Regions from separate parts of the Homo sapiens genome. Here region 2 is linked to region 1. Evidence: promoter capture Hi-C in human tissues and cell types (Jung and others, 2019). All regions are on one chromosome and are shown on one strand. Each heading gives the region's core, a stretch centred on a gene start or on the middle of the fragment in contact. The rest is flanking DNA. Distances are from core to core; before and after follow the strand shown. Region 1 holds the start of KIF23 (kinesin family member 23). Region 2 has its middle 23 kb from the start of PAQR5-DT.

Region 1 (4,060 bases), core at 351-2,850:
GAAGACCCAAAGACCCAGGGAAAGCTGTCCATTTTTATGCTTAGATGAGATGAAGAATGGACAGCTGTGTAGAAATGTGATTGTACAAAAGGAGTATGATCTAATAGTAACAGACTGAAGGAGGAATCCAGCAAGTCCTGTCTGTTCAGATTCTTCTTGGCCTCTCTGTGCAGCTTTCCTTCTTCCTGAGTGTAGGGCAAGACCCTTTTGGAACGAGGGTCTTATGACAAGGTACATCAAAGAATGTCTTTATGGCCAGCTCTTACACAAAAAGGTGGGGGAAGGCTAGATTAATATTTCTAGGTTTTTCTAGAATAATGTTTCTGGCTTGCTTGGGAGAAAAGGGGTTCTAGTTTCCATGACCCGCCTTGGGGAACAGAAATTCTGGTTTCTATTATTTGCTTTAGGAGACACAGAGGGGTGGGAGACAAGAGGGCAGGAGAAAGTCAGAGACAGACTTTGCTTTTAAGGCTTCTCTGAGGCACTTTCAGTCTTCTTTAGTTCAAAGCACTCAGTGTGCCAAAGAGCCATACTCTGGGGTGTCGTTTCCTGAGCACCAACAATATTGGCCAAGGACATTGTGACTATCCTTACCAGTGCTGTGGTCCTTTAGGAAGTTGAGAAGGGGCTAGAGTTCCATGAGAGCCCAGGTGTAGATGTGTATTTGGTAGTCATCGGCTTAGGGTCAAAGACAGAAGTGATATAGAATCAGTTCATCTAAGGCAAGAGTAGGTTCAAAAGGTTGCCCCTTAAGGGTAAGGACCAAATTTTATTCATCTCCGTAAGGCCAGGATCAAACACAATCAAGATTTGATAAAACAGGCCGGGCGCAGTGGCTCACGCCTGTAATCCCAGCACTTTGGGAGGCCAAGGTAGGCAGATCACCTTAAGTCAGGAGTTCTAGACCACCCTGGCCAATATGGTGAAACCTCATCTCTACTAAAAATACAAAAATTAGCTGGGCGTGGTGGTGCGCGCCTGTAATCCCAGCTACTCGGGAGGCTGAGGCAAGAGAATTGCTTGAACCTAGGAGGTGGAGGTTGCAGTGAGCTGAAGACTGCAGTCCAGGCTGGGCGACAGAGCAACTCCACCTCAAAAAATAAAAAAGGAAAAAAAAAAGATTTGATAAAATAATGTACATATAGGACAGAGCTGGAGGGAAACCCAGGAAAGGTGAATCAGAGAGAGAAAAGACGCCAAGATAATGTGGTGACTTGGGAGCCAGAGAGACGGAGCCTGAGACTTGGAGCAGGGCACAGCACAGGAATACAACACTTTTCACCAGAACGACATTCCGACCTCTGAATCAACCCTGGAAAGGCCCTTCCATTGAACTTCTTGTGATGGAGGAAAAGAAACCCTCAGTTTCGTCATCGCAAGGCGGAAGAGTTTAAATACCATACCTCAAGATCTCCCTCCAGCCCTGACACGCGACTCCGCGGCCCTTTCAGCGTCGGTCGCCTAGGAGACAAGCGCCACTTCCGGCAGCGAAGTCACTTCCGCGGAGGTCCTGCCTCTCCCTGCGGACGGGCGCTGATTGGCCCGTTTGAAATGCGCCAGGCGGGAGCTCACCTGGGCTCTTAGCGTCGCCGCCGGCTTCGCAGAGCACCGCGCCTTAGCCGCGAAGTTCTAGTTCTTGCTGCCGGTCCTAACGTCCCGCAGTCTTCGCCAGCCAGCCGTCCCGCATGCGCGTTTGGGCGGCGTGGAGCCTGCTGCCATGAAGTCAGCGTGAGTACGAGGCCGCCGAGCAGGGAGAGAGGGCGGACGGGGGCCGAGGCCTCGGGGCTGGGGGCAGGCGTCTCCACTCAGGCCGCGGCCGTACGCGGGCAGCGCGGACAGCATCCCGCCCGGTGCTGCTGCGGCCGCGACCCCAAAGTGGGAACCTCCACGTGTGGCCGCTCCGCGGGAGCCTGGGCGCGGAGACCCCTGCCGCGTCGCCCCCCGCCGCCCCGCCTGGGCCTCCAAGGGGCCAGGAAGGGTCGGCCCGGAGCCGGGGTTGTTTTACGCCGCACCCGGTTCCCGGGGGCGGGGCAGTCCTCCTCGGGGTCCCGGGACAGCCTTTCCCTTCTCCCTCGCTGGCTGCCGCCGCCTCCAGAGTGCAGTTGGCCAACTTAGTGCGGGTCGGAGGTGGTCTCGTGTGTGGAGCAGAGCGAGTGTGCTGGGCATTGGTTAGATGGGCTCCGTTTCTGGAGAGCCCTGGCACCGGTGATCGCCGCTAGCTTTTTTTTCAGCCGAGCACCCTGTCCTTGAGGCCGAGCCCATCCGCTTACACAGGCCAGTTACTTCTGCTGTATTTTGTGGCCGCAGAGAACCTCCGCCCACATTCCTAAGCTAATATTTTCGGCGCAGCATCATTCCTGGGTAAAGAAATATTTGTCGTGCAAAGGAGAGGATTGGCTTTATTACCATTTAGGGAGTCGTTTGCAAAAGACAACTTGTTTATTAAGAGGCCGAAGTCAAAATCTTTAGATGAAAAAAATTATATATAAGAAATATACGTTGAGTTTAACTTAAGCCCACCACAAAGTATTTTGCACTGAATAACACGAATTTGCTTGTGTTTCATCTGAGAATATGTTTGGAAAAATATTTTTAAACTACAGTCGAAGCCAATAATCTTACTTAATTTTAATGTGTTAAATGTATATCTAGCCTATAGATAAATGTGAAGGGAAAAAGATGAGATGCTAGAGAAATGGTGAAATCAATCAAAATAACTTTTTGATTGCCCCTACTTAAGAAACCAAGAAATTGGCAGTTTGGGACCAGATTTTGTTTGGAGACAAAGAGTAATGTTTTGAGCATTCAATGACTGGTTGTTCCTTGAAAGTACAGGCGTAACCCTTGACGAAAGAATGGTTTCCTCCATGTGCATTTTTATAGTGTATTGAAGTTAATCGCTTGTCAGTCTGTAAAGTGTGGGCAGTTATAATTTGTAGTGCCTCTGTTAAATTGTTGCTCAAGAAAATATGCAAGCCATTTTAAGTATAGAACTAATCAGAGAATAAGTAGGTAGCTTTGGTACCAAAAATGTATTCTAAAGCAAATTTTAATTACTTTTGGATTACGCATGCCACAAACACTCTGCTACTATGATTATTAATGTTATTTGGGATGCAGTGTTTTGCAACTGCTAAGGGATAATTTACAGATAACCTAGAAAGATTGTATAAGTTTTAGGTGAGGCTTTTGTATTCGTGTTGAACTGAAAAAAAAGTTATTATTATTTTTTAATCTATGACCAGGAGAGCTAAGACACCCCGGAAACCTACCGTGAAAAAAGGGTCCCAAACGAACCTTAAAGACCCAGTTGGGGTAAGGTATCCCTGTAAATTTATGTGTGGTGTTTAAGAAACTTATCTCTTCAGTCCTTTCTGTCTTATGTGTATGCTTGGAAGGGAAAGAAGAAGACATGTGGAAGTATAATCAAAGAACATTTAGTTAAATGGATGTACTACATTGTGTAAAACTAGTGCTAGCTGTGAAATTTTCTCTATAAGATTAATTAAATTAGTCCAGTAAAATGAAGTCTTTGGTTGTCAACTGCATACCTTCTGTAATTATAATTTGGAGAGTTAGATAATTAAAAATCTCCAACTGGGTTCATATTCATCCCAGAGAATATGAACTGAGTTCATGCCATACAGTAACTGATGGCATGAGGAGAGTTCCAAACTTCTTGGGACCAAGTTTAATTCAGTTAAATTATGAAGAAAAAATGAAGCAGGCAAAAAGAATAAGAATTTTAAAACAAAACAACAAATGGCAAACAAAAAGGGTTCTTTGCTCTGAGGTATTTTAAATCTATCCCTCGTTGCCACTGGAGTGGGTCCCTGGCTCTGAGTTAAGGGAACCGGGTGCTTTGCACACAGCTGAATGAGTTTTCCTCAAGCCCCCTCCCCTGCTTTCAAAAATGTCTCTGTAGGCTGGGTGCGGTGGCTCACATCTGTAATCCCAGCACTTTGGGAGGCTGAGGCGGGTGGATCACCTGAGGTCAGGAGTTCGAGACCAGCCTGGCCAACATGGCGAAACCCTGTCTCTACTAAAATTACAAAAATTA
Region 2 (4,232 bases), core at 1,393-3,892, 140 kb before region 1:
TGCCATGTGACCCTGCCTTCTCTGGCCATGACTTAGACGAGGGGCGAATCCCCCTCACTCAAGCTGGCCGACCAATCAGTCTTTTCCCCAGGAATTCAAAATGGGATGGATTAAAAAACTAAAGCAGAAATACAGTGAAAAGCGGAGATGAGAAACAGAAGACAATGCTCCAGGCCCTGGATCCAATGCCCTTCTGAGGCCAGCTGTATTCCTCTCAGGTTCCGCGAGGTACCACTGTATCCTTAGGATAAATTCTTTTTTTTTTTTTTTTTTTTTTTTTTTTTTTTTTGAGACGGAGTCTCGCTCTGTCGCCCAGGCCGGACTGCGGACTGCAGTGGCGCAATCTCGGCTCACTGCAAGCTCCACTTCCCGGGTTCACGCCATTCTCCTGCCTCAGCCTCCCGAGTAGCTGGGACTACAGGCGCCCGCCACCGCGCCCGGCTAATTTTTTTTGTATTTTTAGTAGAGACGGGGTTTCACCGTTTTAGCCGGGATGGTCTCGATCTCCTGACCTCGTGATCCGCCCGCCTCGGCCTCCCAAAGTGCTGGGATTACAGGCGTGAGCCACCGCGCCCGGCTGGATAAATTCTTAACATTTGCTGAAGTTGGCTGGATTTAGTTTCTGTTACTTGCAACAAATGAGCCCTAATTAATAATGTATCTCCATTATAGAGGAAAATACGTGTAAATACAGTGTAAATTCTGCATTTTCCTCCAATCTGGACCCTGTTGTATTAGCTTGCTAGAGCTGCTCTAACGAATACCACAGACCGGGTGGCTTACACAAGAAATTTATTATTCTCACAATTCTGGAGGCTTGAAGTCCAAGATTAAGATGTTGGTAGGTTTGGTTTCTTCCAAGACCTCTCACCATGTCTTGCAGATGGTGCCTTCTTGCTGTATCCTCAAGGCTGTCTCTCCAACTGTGCTCTCTGTGTCTAGGGCCCACTCATGTGACCTCATTTTACCTTAATTACCTCTTTGAAGGCCTGTCTCTAAATGCAGTCACGTTCTGAGATGCCGGGGAGTTAGGACTTAACGTGTGAGTGGTGAGGGGCACACAATTCAGCCAGTAGCAACCACTCAAAGGGTTGCCATTTAATTCGATGATAATCATTGAAGGACAAAACTGAAATCTGTAGGGAACATTAGTTGGGCAGAAATCTAGACTTGGTACTCAGAATACAGGGCTCCCTGGCTCAGCCATTAGAGCATCAAGAATTTACTCAGGCCAGGTCCGGTGTCTCACGCCTGTAATCCCAGCACTTTGGGAGGCCGAAGTGGGCAGATCACCTGAGGTCAGGAGTTCAAGACCAGCCTGGGCAACACGGCGAAACCCCGTCTCTACGAAAAATACAAAATTTAGCCAGGCATGGTGGTGCGCACCTATAATCCCAGCTACTCAGGAGGGTGAGCCAGGAGAATCACTTGAACCCTGCAGGGAGAGGTTGCAGTGAGCTGAGATCATGCCACTGCACTCCAGCCTGGGTGACAGAGTGAGACTCCGTCTCAATAAAAGAAGAATTTACTCTTTCACCCCATAGACTTCAGTTGCCTCATGGTACAATCCAATAAATAGAGAACTCTGCTCTCAAAGTTTGTAATAAACTAACAAAAGGTAACCACTAAATTTAAGCAGTGGTAAAAACAACAACAACTTCTAGGTTTTTATTCTTCTTACCTGTATGCCTTTTTCATTAGCTCATTCGGAATGCAGAACTCTGGGGTACTGGGAGCGGGTTGGTGGGAAGTATAGACAGAGTATATAAAAGTGCAAGTAGTGGTGAGATTTTGTTTAATGATAATTTTTTAATCCCAAGTCTGCACTATCGTAACTTACAAATAACAATATAGGGATAAAGTATTGATTTTCATTATACCAGCTCATTAAGGATGTCAAACTGAAAATGGATGTGAATGTAAATGTTGTATTGGTGATGAATTTGAATGTTTGCTGCTCAATTTCTGGTGAAAAGAGATACATTTACCATCTGGTAAGAATGATTGATAACTTGCATGCGTATGCTGCATTTCCTGAATGTTAAGTAGCAGCAACACTGTGTAATTTTGCTAATCCTTTTCTAGGAGGATTTCACAAAATGACAGGACTGCAAAGCAAGCCATCAAAGAGCAGTAGCAAAGAGAACAGCAAAAGGGGCGGAAAAAAAGTCCTGTGAAGGACCAGAAATAGAGCAGTGGACAACTGGTATTAAATACACAGTTTAGATAAGATGTTCTTAAGCAACGCAAAGCTCATTGCATCTAAGCTTAACGTCAGAAGAGCTGGTGTCTCCCTGGGAGTTTGCTCTGTTCTGTCAGCACCTAGTGAAATCACTGAGATAAGAATGGCTGCTCCATTTCAGTTCAGAAAATCTAGTAAAGAGAGTTCATCTCTCTGGGGACTACAGAAGGAAGTAAATCTCTGAAGTGGGGTGAGGAAGAGGTCTTGTTTTTAAGCAAACATATAGCAAAGATGCATGATCTTAATTTAATGCCTGTTATTCTGTCATCTTTCCTTTTTAACACCAATGAAGTTAAGTTTCTGCAATTCAGTTGAATACAGTGGGAGGCCCCAAACAGATTCCTATCAATGGCGTGGCAAGGTAGTCTTAGGGAAAGTGTCTGTCTATCTTCTCAGCTACTGCAGGCAACAGAAAGAGGCACTCTCTTCATCTGAAAATATCCATCAGAAGAAATTACCTAGGCAACTTCTTGTGAGCTTGAATTAGTAGGTTTCAGTGTCTGGGGTACTGGAAACCATGGTCCTGGGTTAGTGTTTCTTGCTAATGAGCATTTAGGAATAGGAAGAGGAAACAGGCACCATTACAGGTGCTCCTCAAACTAACTCTCATTAACTGCTCACCATGACTCTGGAAGCCCGACTCCTGGTAGGTGAGAAAAAGAAACACTGCTGCCTAGTGTTCCATTATCGGAATGCTAAGCATGTGGGAGTTATTTACATCCTACTGCTCAAGGTCATCGCCAAGGTCTGATTTTTCATTCGTGCAAAAATTCAAAAAATTGTAACCCCTGGCATAAATGGGTTAAGGAGCTTGCTGAAGTTCGTGCAGTTCTTTTCACTACGTATTTATTGAACACCTTCCTACTGATTGTGCTACCTGCCAAAAGCAAAGATGAGACCTGTCCCTGTCATGAGTCATAACTAGTTAACATAAATAACTGAGTCCACAGCTGACTGGCCTGGAGTGCTCTTCCCTGGGGTAAGCTTTGGATGGCCTTTCCTTTCCAAAATCACAGGCAGAGCAGTGGGGCCAACACGAAGAGCCAGAGTGTCTAAGCTCCCACAGTGGGTCGGGCTCTTGCTAGAAGACTCCACGGGTGTTCTTTCTAATCCTTTTGACAACCTTGGGAGGAAGTCTGTGAACTTCACGGATGAAAAAACAAACTTGGAGAAGTTAACAACTTGCCAGAAACCATTTAGCTATTTGATAAACAAGGTCTCAAGCCCAGGTATGTCTGACTCCAAATTCCATGTTCTGACCCATCGTCCCCAGGCAATAACTATAATCCACTATCTCCTGACTCCACCGTCTACACAGTGGGCTCAACCAGGGAGGCAGATCTCAGCCCCAGAGCTCTCCTACATTCGCCAGGTAAGATAATTAGTCCATTTCATCTGTGGACTCTATATCAGATCTGCTGAAATTGGTATTTGCTCCACTAAATGGTTAGAAAAGCCCAAAAGCAGAGACAGGAAGTTTTTTCAGCAATTGAGTCTCTTAGCATGTGCCTCCATTTCTTCAACTTCCATTGATGTTATTTTTTGAATAACCCAACATAAAAACCCCTCTAGCCTCTCTCCAGCCCTCTCCTGCTATTTGCTCTCTTCCCTAGTGGACTTTCAAAAAGCTGCCTCTATTACAAATTAAAATGTACACAGCGTGTGTTTAATACGTGCAAATACGCGCACACACACACACACAAGTGAATACACAGATGCACAGCAAACAGCCTGCACTGTGCTGGCTGCAAGGGATGCAGTGATGAGTGAGATGAAGTCTCTGCCTTCTGTGAGTCCATGAAGTGACAGCTTTGGGAGGTACACAATTTTATTCTTTGCTGTGAAAAATGAAACCGTTTAAAATTTTTCAAATTCCAAATTAGAGTTTGAATTAATGAGATTCTAAAGAACCTTCCTACGTTATACTTTTTAGCTCATTTCATGAAAATAATGACATATTTTATCCTCAGAATGGCCCTAAGAGACTGGC

Evidence for each region. Contacts are between HindIII fragments. The study calls those that stand out against the background at their distance.
Region 2: a fragment that was not itself captured here is called in contact with the fragment with the promoter of KIF23 in region 1 in 1 of the 25 tissues and cell types used here (mesenchymal stem cells).

Annotation. Positions count from the first base shown.
Region 1 is chr15:69,412,749-69,416,808 of GRCh38, forward strand. It overlaps KIF23 (kinesin family member 23), which reads left to right and starts at 1,601. Exons shown (of 24, transcript NM_001367805.3): 1 at 1,601-1,728; 2 at 3,246-3,315. The coding sequence starts at 1,718. KIF23-AS1 (KIF23 and PAQR5 antisense RNA 1) reads right to left here and starts at 2,281. Exons shown (of 2, transcript NR_132971.1): 1 at 1,404-2,281. RefSeq lists silencers at 1,771-1,890, 1,921-2,000. The HindIII fragment of the contact is 14,046 bases long and covers 1-4,060 here.
Region 2 is chr15:69,273,196-69,277,427 of GRCh38, forward strand. No RefSeq gene overlaps it. Among named protein-coding and RNA genes, the nearest start is that of PAQR5-DT, 23 kb to the right of the region's middle. The HindIII fragment of the contact is 5,404 bases long and covers 1-4,232 here.